Regions from separate parts of the Homo sapiens genome. Here region 1 is linked to region 2. Evidence: promoter capture Hi-C in human tissues and cell types (Jung and others, 2019). All regions are on one chromosome and are shown on one strand. Each heading gives the region's core, a stretch centred on a gene start or on the middle of the fragment in contact. The rest is flanking DNA. Distances are from core to core; before and after follow the strand shown.

The links. The method cuts DNA at HindIII sites, captures the fragments that hold promoters and counts their contacts. A contact is called where the count stands out against the background at its distance.
Region 1: a fragment that was not itself captured here is called in contact with the fragment with the promoter of POPDC3 in region 2 in 1 of the 25 tissues and cell types used here (H1 embryonic stem cells).

What each region holds. Positions count from the first base shown.
Region 1 is chr6:104,949,165-104,953,644 of GRCh38, reverse strand. It overlaps a transcript of LIN28B not described here. Among named protein-coding and RNA genes, the nearest start is that of LIN28B, 5.7 kb to the left of the region's middle. The HindIII fragment of the contact is 5,482 bases long and covers 1-4,388 here.
Region 2 is chr6:105,177,802-105,182,284 of GRCh38, reverse strand. POPDC3 (popeye domain cAMP effector 3) reads left to right here and starts at 2,271. Exons shown (of 4, transcript NM_022361.5): 1 at 2,271-2,452. The HindIII fragment of the contact is 10,229 bases long and covers 1-4,483 here.

The sequences.
Region 1 (4,480 bases), core at 398-2,897, 230 kb after region 2:
TTTCTTTCCTCAGTCACTTTTCCCTTTATTCGTCACTTTACCATCTCCTCTCCCTAAGTGGGGTAGATCCAAAGGCTGGTGATTTCTCACTAATTTAGGGACTTTTACATTTGTCATCTTGTCCCCAAGAACACCAAACAAAAGAAATCCCTGCCTTCACTACTATGGCAAAAACACTACGCACAACCTACTATTTTTACTGAATTTCCAGACGTATATCACTTATAATTTGATCCCTTTTCCTATGAGATGCCAGAATCTCCTAAAGCTAAGATAAGTGCGGTCAAAGAGAGGGAATCCGAACCCAAGAAAATGAGCACCCCCACCCCCACCGGGCCATGCCTAAAACTGAGCTGTCTTCCAGCAAACCCGGCGCCGTCCTTTCGGGAAGCCGCGATGGCAAACGTCGCCCTGGGCCTTCGGAGGATCAAGAAAAAACGTCGGCGAGAAAGGGCTGGACGCAAGGCTGGGGGCGATTTTCGGGATCTCTCTCTGCCCCTGGCAAGATCTCTCCCGCCTGAAAGCCGCCGACCCGCCCGTCGGGCAAACTGTCCTGATTCCTTCCGCCGCGTTTTGGTAAACCACTTGGCGGTAACTTTCTTGACATTCCTACGACATGGAGACAAATGCAAGGCGCGCCCGACTGGGTGCTTGGGTCTTGCAGCAGAGGCACTTCAGAATATAGTTGGGTCGCTTTGCTTTTGTTTCCAAAAAGCAAAATTCTATTCTCATTTAATTTCCTTGTCTGGAGGCAAAATGCTCTGGCTTCACACAATTGGTCCAACGTTAGAATTTTTATACAGAGGTAAAAATCTCTCGAGACTTTCATTAAATACCTTAACACACTTTCCCCAGAATAATAAAGTAAAATTATGGAAATACAGAAACGGATTAGCATAAATTTTAAGTTTTCCACACAAATTGCCTTTATATTTCAAAATTTGCCTTTATATTTCAAAATTTCCCTTTACATTTCAAAATTTGCAAATGCTTCCTTCTTTTTGGTCAGTTATGTTTCAGCAAAATATTTACAACAAAATTCAGAAAAGGAGCATTATTTTAAGACTAACATTCTGAAGAAAGAATTTTTTAACTTTTTTTAAAAATTATACATAATAGCTGTAGAAAGTATCTTTTTAAAAACCTGGAATAGCAAAAATCCTATTACATTAACATACTTCTCTCCCAATAAGCAGGAAAAATATTTTCCAAACTGTGCTCAACAAATACTTTCTTAAATTACTTTAATTAGAATAGTAACAGGCTAGAAAAATCATTTAGTACTAAGTTTTACATTACTTTGCCCAGAATGGCACAAAAGGAAGCTTCATGTTTTAGCTGCAAAATGAAAGTATTTTTCAACTGTACTACTTGAACATGTATGTTTCCTAATTTAAAGGTCTTTTTGCAATAAATACCATGAGTCTGTGGAGCAAACACTAAATAATGTTAATATACTATTCTTTCTTCCTCCCTCAAGCAATGAATAAAAGTATTCTTTAAAGCTCTATTTCATCAAAAGAAATAATCAACTGAAATAAGAATGTGGACTGTCTCCCAGGTATTTATTTCAATATTTACCCTTTGGGTTTATTTGAGGGGAGAGGGCAAGTATATCAGAAATGAAAAAGGAAAGAAGAGTGGCAGGGTAAAAGATGAGACAAGTTAAAAGAAATCTTCAGGCTTTAAAGATGCCTGAAGCAAATCAGCATGTGTGAGAAGCAAATCTGTGGAGAAAAAGCCCAGCTAGAAAATGGAGGCCAGAATTCTGGTCCTATTTACCAATTCTGGTCCTATTTACCAATCTGTGGCCTTGGGCTAATCACTAAACTTCTCTGGAACTCAGTTTCTTCATCTGTAAAGTGAGGAAACTGGACCAGCAAATATTCAAAGTCTTTTAACTTGAAATGTAATCTCTAGAAATAACCATTCTTCTGGTGAAAGTTGTACCTTTCCCCTCCGATCCTTTTTAATCACAAGGAAATACAGACATGAAACTTTATTGCAGTCACTTAACACATTGGTGTTAACATTATTTCCCAACAGAAAAGAAAAAGGTCTCTGAACTGGCCCCAACAGAAAACCACAGTCGATAATAAGGGGAAAAAAATAAAAAATTAATAAATGAAAACAATAATAAGAGGAAACTAGGTGGTATACTAAAACATTTGTACCAACTTTTGAGAATCTTCTTTTTCATGATATTAGAGTATCACCCCTATGTCAAGATTCACTCCAAAAAAAAAGCAGTTTCTCAAATGGAAATCCTATCATGGTTTCCTCATCCAACTTTTTGATCCTTACTGCTTTCCTCTTGCTACTCACAATCCTATATTTGAAAAGTTTAATAACAGAATAACATCATTTTACTTGTAGTTATTATTAATATTCATATACTTTGCAATATCACAGCTCCTATGTGTGCCTTCAAAGTGGTATGGTCAAGCCAGAGTAATAAATTATCATCAAATAAGATTGTTACTAAAAAATGGTGCTATAACTTTTAAGTTAATTTTAATAATATAAGAAAGCATGTCAAAAGTCTGGGTTTAAAATATTAAAGTTCAAATGACTCAGCTTTGTCATATGAAAACGAGGAGCAAATTCTGATATATGTTTATGAAAAGCAACACAGAGCTTCCTAGATAAGAAAAATTTCCTCAAAATGTCTAATATATTGTGCTATTTCTGTTATGATAAATTATTTTAAAACAGCACCATGTCTCCATTTTTAATTTAGTTCAGCAGATATTCGTTAGTGCATATTTTACTTTGGGAGTTACAAAAATGAACAAACCATGAATACTTTTCATTCATCTCCATAAGCATTTAAATATCTGTTATCTATGCTGCTTGAGTTACAGAAAAAGGAATCACAAAATACAATACTGCTAAAAGTGGGGGTGGGGGGAAAGGGGTTAATTAGAAGAGGTTGTCCACGTAATTCTTATGGGAACACCAGTTTTTTAGATGGAGTGATCAGGACGAAGTATAGGAGGACTTGGTACCTGTCTTGCCAAAGTAGAAAGGATGGAGAATTCCTGAGGGCTGTCAGGTTCTCATATGCCTCTAGCGATCTTGATCTTTTAAAACATTAATTAAACAAAATATTTAAAAAAAAAAAAAAAGACTAACCTGGGGCTGATGAAACCTGGTTGAATGACCTCATCCTCTTCTGAAGAACCTAAAATCAGAGAGCTCAAGTCAGTACTACATTAATTGCCTATTTAATTGCCTCTTCTTCATCCTAATGGCCATTAGAAAGCAATAAAATGCCCAGGTTTTGACTCTGTGAAGAGACCTGTAAACTTTTTTTTACAGTTTAAGACTCACCTAGCAAAATTAGATAACCAATTGGCATATACTTGCCTTTTATATCTAGTAGAGGACACTAGTTTAAAGAACATTTACAACATTTAAGACCATTAAGATGCAGTCAAAAGATCCCAATATCACGAACAATGCAGTTTAAATTTTAATATTTAATTTTACACTGTAATTTTAAAATACTAGTATTTTTTCCAAGCACAGTTAAAATCTACTTAACCTAGAATATCATGTTTCTTGAAGAACTAACTTCTTTGACTATTCTCTTCAGATATATTTCAGAAGATAAATCATGAGAATCTAACGATGGTACTATAAAATAGATATTGGGGCTGTTGCAGTCAAGTGAATGAAAAATTACATTAATGGTAATACATTTAATCATTAAGTATATTTTTAAATATCTAATATGCATTTTAACTTATATTTTTAAATGGGTTAATGTTTTTTAAAAAGCAAACAGTTCTCATTTTTTAAATATGAGTAAATATTGATGTTTCTAATACATCCATTGGCAGATGCCACAACACAATAAAACTTGCAATAAAGAGGCCACACAGTAATCAAGTATAGTGATTGGAAGAGGAACTCCTGGTGACTACTAAATTATTGTTTTTATCCTTGGGTCAGTTATTAAGGTTTGCAAAACAGATTGGTGTGAACATGCATGCACTCACCTGCTACACCCAGAGTTGTCTTTCCTTAACTAAGTTTTACACACTAGACCTACTATATCAACTCACAAAAAATAAGTAAAACCATTCTGTGCAAATTATTTAAGTTGCAATCTAATTTTCTTCTCAAAAGGAAATGGAGACTTTTCCAAGTGCAGGGTTCTACTGAATGTTGACCCAAGGTTCTTTTTACAAAGGATGACAATCCCACCGAGTTAGATTTGAAAAGAATAGAGGAAGAATGTGAACAAAAGGCACGTGAACCTCTGTACATTAAATCCTTCACTTAGCCTGTGTTTACAACCAAAAGACACAAGATAATGACAGATCCTAACTTTAACAAAATTCATTACAGACACTTAATGAAACAGAGCTTTCCTTTACATTGATCCTGTATCAAGTTTTATTTTGCACATCTGGCTTATGTGTGAGTATATTTAATTATTGTACATAAATATTTCAGCACAACTGTAGCTTCT
Region 2 (4,483 bases), core at 1,022-3,521:
TCACTTAGGCTGTTGACAGAATTCATTTCCTGGAGTTTGTAGGACTTCTTGCTGGCTGGCTATGGGCCGGAAGCTGCCTTTCAGCTCCTAGAGGCTGCCCATGGTTCCTCACCATGTGGACTTTCCAAGCATGGCCACTGCCTTCATCAGGCCAGACCGGACAGTCTCTAGAGAGAGTCTGTTCATAAGAGACAGTCTTTTATAATGTAATGTGGTCATGGGAGTGATATCCATCACCTTTGTTATATTTATTTTCAGAAGCAAGTCACAGGTCCCAACCCCTCTTAGGAGGAGGGGATCTAACACAGGTATGAACATGAACAGGTACTGGGAATCAGAAACTATTGGGGCCACTGAAGAATCTGTCACACAGGGATATCTTTGTTGCATTGAGACAGGAAAGCTATTTTAAGATGGTGTGGTGAAAAAGGATAAAAGCTCCTTACTCAAGCTCTAGCTTATCTAACTCTCAGTCAATAGGTAACAAAACACCCAAGAAGCTGTTAACTGCAAGCTCCTATTTCAGAGGGCTAGGGACTTCCCCAGATCCCCGCCTGTACAGTTAGACTTAAACTCCAACCTACATTTACCCCTTCCTCACTTTAATGCTAAAAATTACTCCTGGGGTGGAGATTTAAAATGCTAATGCTACATATGATGTATGAAAAAGCATATTGGGCCACTGTGCAAGCACTAGAAAAACTCCTCCTATAGGTGCCCTGATGTAACCCTCCCCTATAGAAAGACCCTATAAAACTGACCCACACACTATCCTCAGAGCAGTCCGTTCCTTTGCCTTTCTTGGTGCTGACTCCCTTGCGCACAAGCTGAATACACTTTCCTTTGCTGCTATGTTTGGTGATCTCTGTTAATCTCTATCATGGGAGATCATAAGAATCCAGGGCAACAGTAACAGCTTCTGAGTTTTTAAATTAAAAATAACAGTAATATAATCCTTAAATTTTTAAAATGTAGGACACTAAACAAGTAAAATCTAAATCCAGAGTACATCTGACCTCAAAGTTCATGGGCTTCTCACTTCCCTGGCCATAGTTTAAAGGTGTGTGTGTGTGTATATATATATATATACATATATATACACACACACACACACACACACACACACACACACACACTATGGACTACATCCAGTTCAAACTGGATTTCCAACATTTGAGTAAATCCCTGCAATGAAGAGAAAGAGCAAAGGCCTAGGAGTCAACTGGTTTCTAGCCATTTCTGGGGTGTAAGAATATGTGTATTTCTTGATCCTCAGTTCCAGCATCAATTAAAGGGAGTTAATTTTACCATCTATATTCACTGTTTTTGTGGTTACCCTGGGGCTCAAAAAAGACACTGATTGCTCAATAAATTCTTGTTCCTGGAGTCGCTGTTATCAATATGGTTATATAAAATGAAAGCGAACTAGAAGACAGGAGATGACATTCTTAAATTAGTGGCGTGTTTTACTGGTCGTCACCAACCCTCACATTTGTTTCATCACAAAAACAAAACAAAACTTTGCTAATTGCAAAGGAAGAAAAAATGCACCTGATCATTGCTTTAAAATTGTATGCATTTGGTTATTACTGATATGAGCTTTTTGTCATTTGTGTTTTTAAATTTTTTCCTTTTATGATTGTCTATGCCCTTTACTCATTTGCTTTTAGAGATGTTCATTGATTTGAATATAGATATTTTATTTTTCATGCAACAGTCCGTATTTATTGGTTGGGTGCGGTGGCTCACATCTGCAATCCTAAGCTTTAGGAGGCTGAGTCAGGAGGATGCCTGGGCCCAGGAGGTCGAGATTGCAGTGAGCCGTGATCACCACTGCACTCCAGCCTGGGTGACAGAGCGAGACACCATCTCTAAAAAAAAAAAAAATACTATATTTACCTCTCTCTCTCTCTCTCTCTGTCCAATACACCCTAATATTCCCGTCCCCACTATGGTGATTTACCTCTTCATTTTGTTTACGGTGTGTGTGGAGCGGGGGTGAGAGAGCAGGCGTGCAGTTGCCTTGGTTCAGCAGCCAGCCCATCGCTCCTGCCTAGTGTGACTGTGAATACTAGGTGTATGTTACAACCGGGAGCGGTGTACACTCGGGGAACCGCATCTTTGGAAACTTCGGTCCGTAGCGGCCGCTAGGATTCTCCGCAGCCCCGCACCCCGGTGGCCGAACCGCCTGCCCCGGCCCAGACGCAGCCGCCGCGCCCGCCCACCCGGCTGCGCCCCGGGGCGCGCGCCCGTGCCCGGCACCCGCCCGCGCCGCCGCGCCGCTCCGGAGCCCGCTGCGGTCACGCTGCGCCCGGCGCCGCAGGGTGGGCGGCGAGGCACTCACGAGGGGGACGCTGAGGGCTTCCGCGCGGGCCACCCGGGTCAAGCGCGCTCCGCCGGGAAACTTCTGCGGGCGCCGGGCTGAAGCTCCGGGCAGGGCTGGGAAGGAAAGGTAAGAAGGTGAGCCCGGGGGCGCTGCGTCCGCCGCCTTCCGGTGCTGTCCGCACCCTCGCACCTCGCGGCCGCTTCGGGCAACTTAGCGGGCGCGGCTTCTGCTGGGCCGCCGACCCCTGCGAGCGCTTGCGTCTCGCTGCCCCGCGCTGCCCGCGCCGCTCCCTTCCCGGCTCCGGTCAACTCCGCGCCCTGGGGTCCGGGGTCTGGGGTCCCGGCTGTGTCGCCGCTCACAGCTCGGAGGTCTAGGGGATCCTTTGCTGCGGTTCCTATCCGCGCCGACCCCTGAAGAACGCGAGTCGTATGCCCTAGAGGCTTCTGGGCGAATATTCCTCCCAGATCTTTTCCTGCAGGTCCTACTCTGGCCCCAGGCACCCTGGAGCCGAAATAAACAGGCCAGTTTTGCAAGGGAGAAAAGCCGTTCCTAGGGGCCCTTGTCAGTCCTGGGGAAGTCATGCCAGCGCCGGGAGTTTCCTTCCCCCCTACTCCCGCCCCCGGTCTGTAAGCAAAGGGCCTGACTGGTGTCAGTGCTCTCACACTGTTCTCACAGAGTTGGGGGTACAAAAAAGCTGCCTCATCAAAGGTCGCGCGGACCTGTTTTCTCCATTTGGGGATCCCCCTGCCAAAAAAGAAATTTGCCAACCCCTAAATTGTCTTATCACCATGTCGGTTACAGTGGTATAGTTTTGAGGGTCTGTATTTTAGGCAAAGATGAAAGGCACAACCAAAATACAGTAAGAGGGGCAGTGCCAAAAATTTAGCCAGAAGACATTTGCAGAAAGTGAAAAATTCTGTTTGTAAATAATAAATGGAAAAGTAGAATTAGAAGCCCACTTTTGGACGCAATTTGATTTACTAAACTTCGTTGCTTCCTGACTTTTCACTCTAATTCCGGTAGTTAGATATTTTGAATTTGCAAGCCTACAAACTGCAATTGAGTTTTATAGCAGCCTTAAAAAATTATTGTTGCCTGTTCATACTAAGTTTAGTGGCTATTTTTTTTCCTTCTTGTTTTTAATTCTACGGACTGTTGCATGAAAATATCCTCTTGTGAGAGTACAATAACTTGGCATTGTTCTTTGTGACAATAGAAAACCAAACAAGAACTACATGAGACAGAAAATATAAACAAAAAATTGGATCTCAGTTTCCATATTCGCAAAATGAAGAGCTCTGGCTGATCCCAGATTCCAGATATCTCTGAGGTTCTGTCCTGAAAAATCTGTGTGTGTGTGTGTGTGTGTGTGTGTGTGTGTGTGTGTGTGTGTGTCTTCAGGAGTTTGGGATACAAATATTAATTGAAATCTAAGATATTCTCTGTCCTCAAAATTTTATACATTTAAATGGGAAATATTTGATAGTTGAGTTTCTTTAATCATATCAGTCCCTCAAAATAGCTGAATCATGGTGCATCTTCTGCCTCTAAATGGTTACATTCTATGCTATTAAATAAAAATGTGTCATGGGAAACAAAAGTCCCATACTTTTCACCACAAGACTGACTAATACGGTTGACACACTAGAGCACTGATGCCTGCTTATTTTGAAACAGTCTCCAGGAAGAATTAAGAATGTTATGAAGCATTTGCTACAGTATGTGAGCATAACACATAAGCAACATGGCAGGCAAGAAATTTCAAAACTGCTTTGGAAATATCCATGATAGATCTGAAAGTCTGTAAACTGCAGTTGAGATCACATTTTGTAATTATGGTCATTGGTCAGTTGGGATTATGAGCTCCCTCGAGAGAATGTCCCTCCAATTAATAGAAGAGTATATCGAATCACCGATTCGATTGTTTTAAAGGAAGAGAGAAAATGTTTCTCCCTTTTATCTAAGTAGTTATAAGAAAAAGTCTTACAAGGAAAATTACATCAGGTGTTTTCTAAATTAAATAAATAACCGAAAGTTCCTGACTGAAATTACCTATAAAAATGCAGGGTCCTCCTCCAACCCAGAGAATCCAGGGATTGATTCACACAGACTTTTAGCGAGACTTTCTTACTTTGTGTTCTTCAACAGAATAATAAC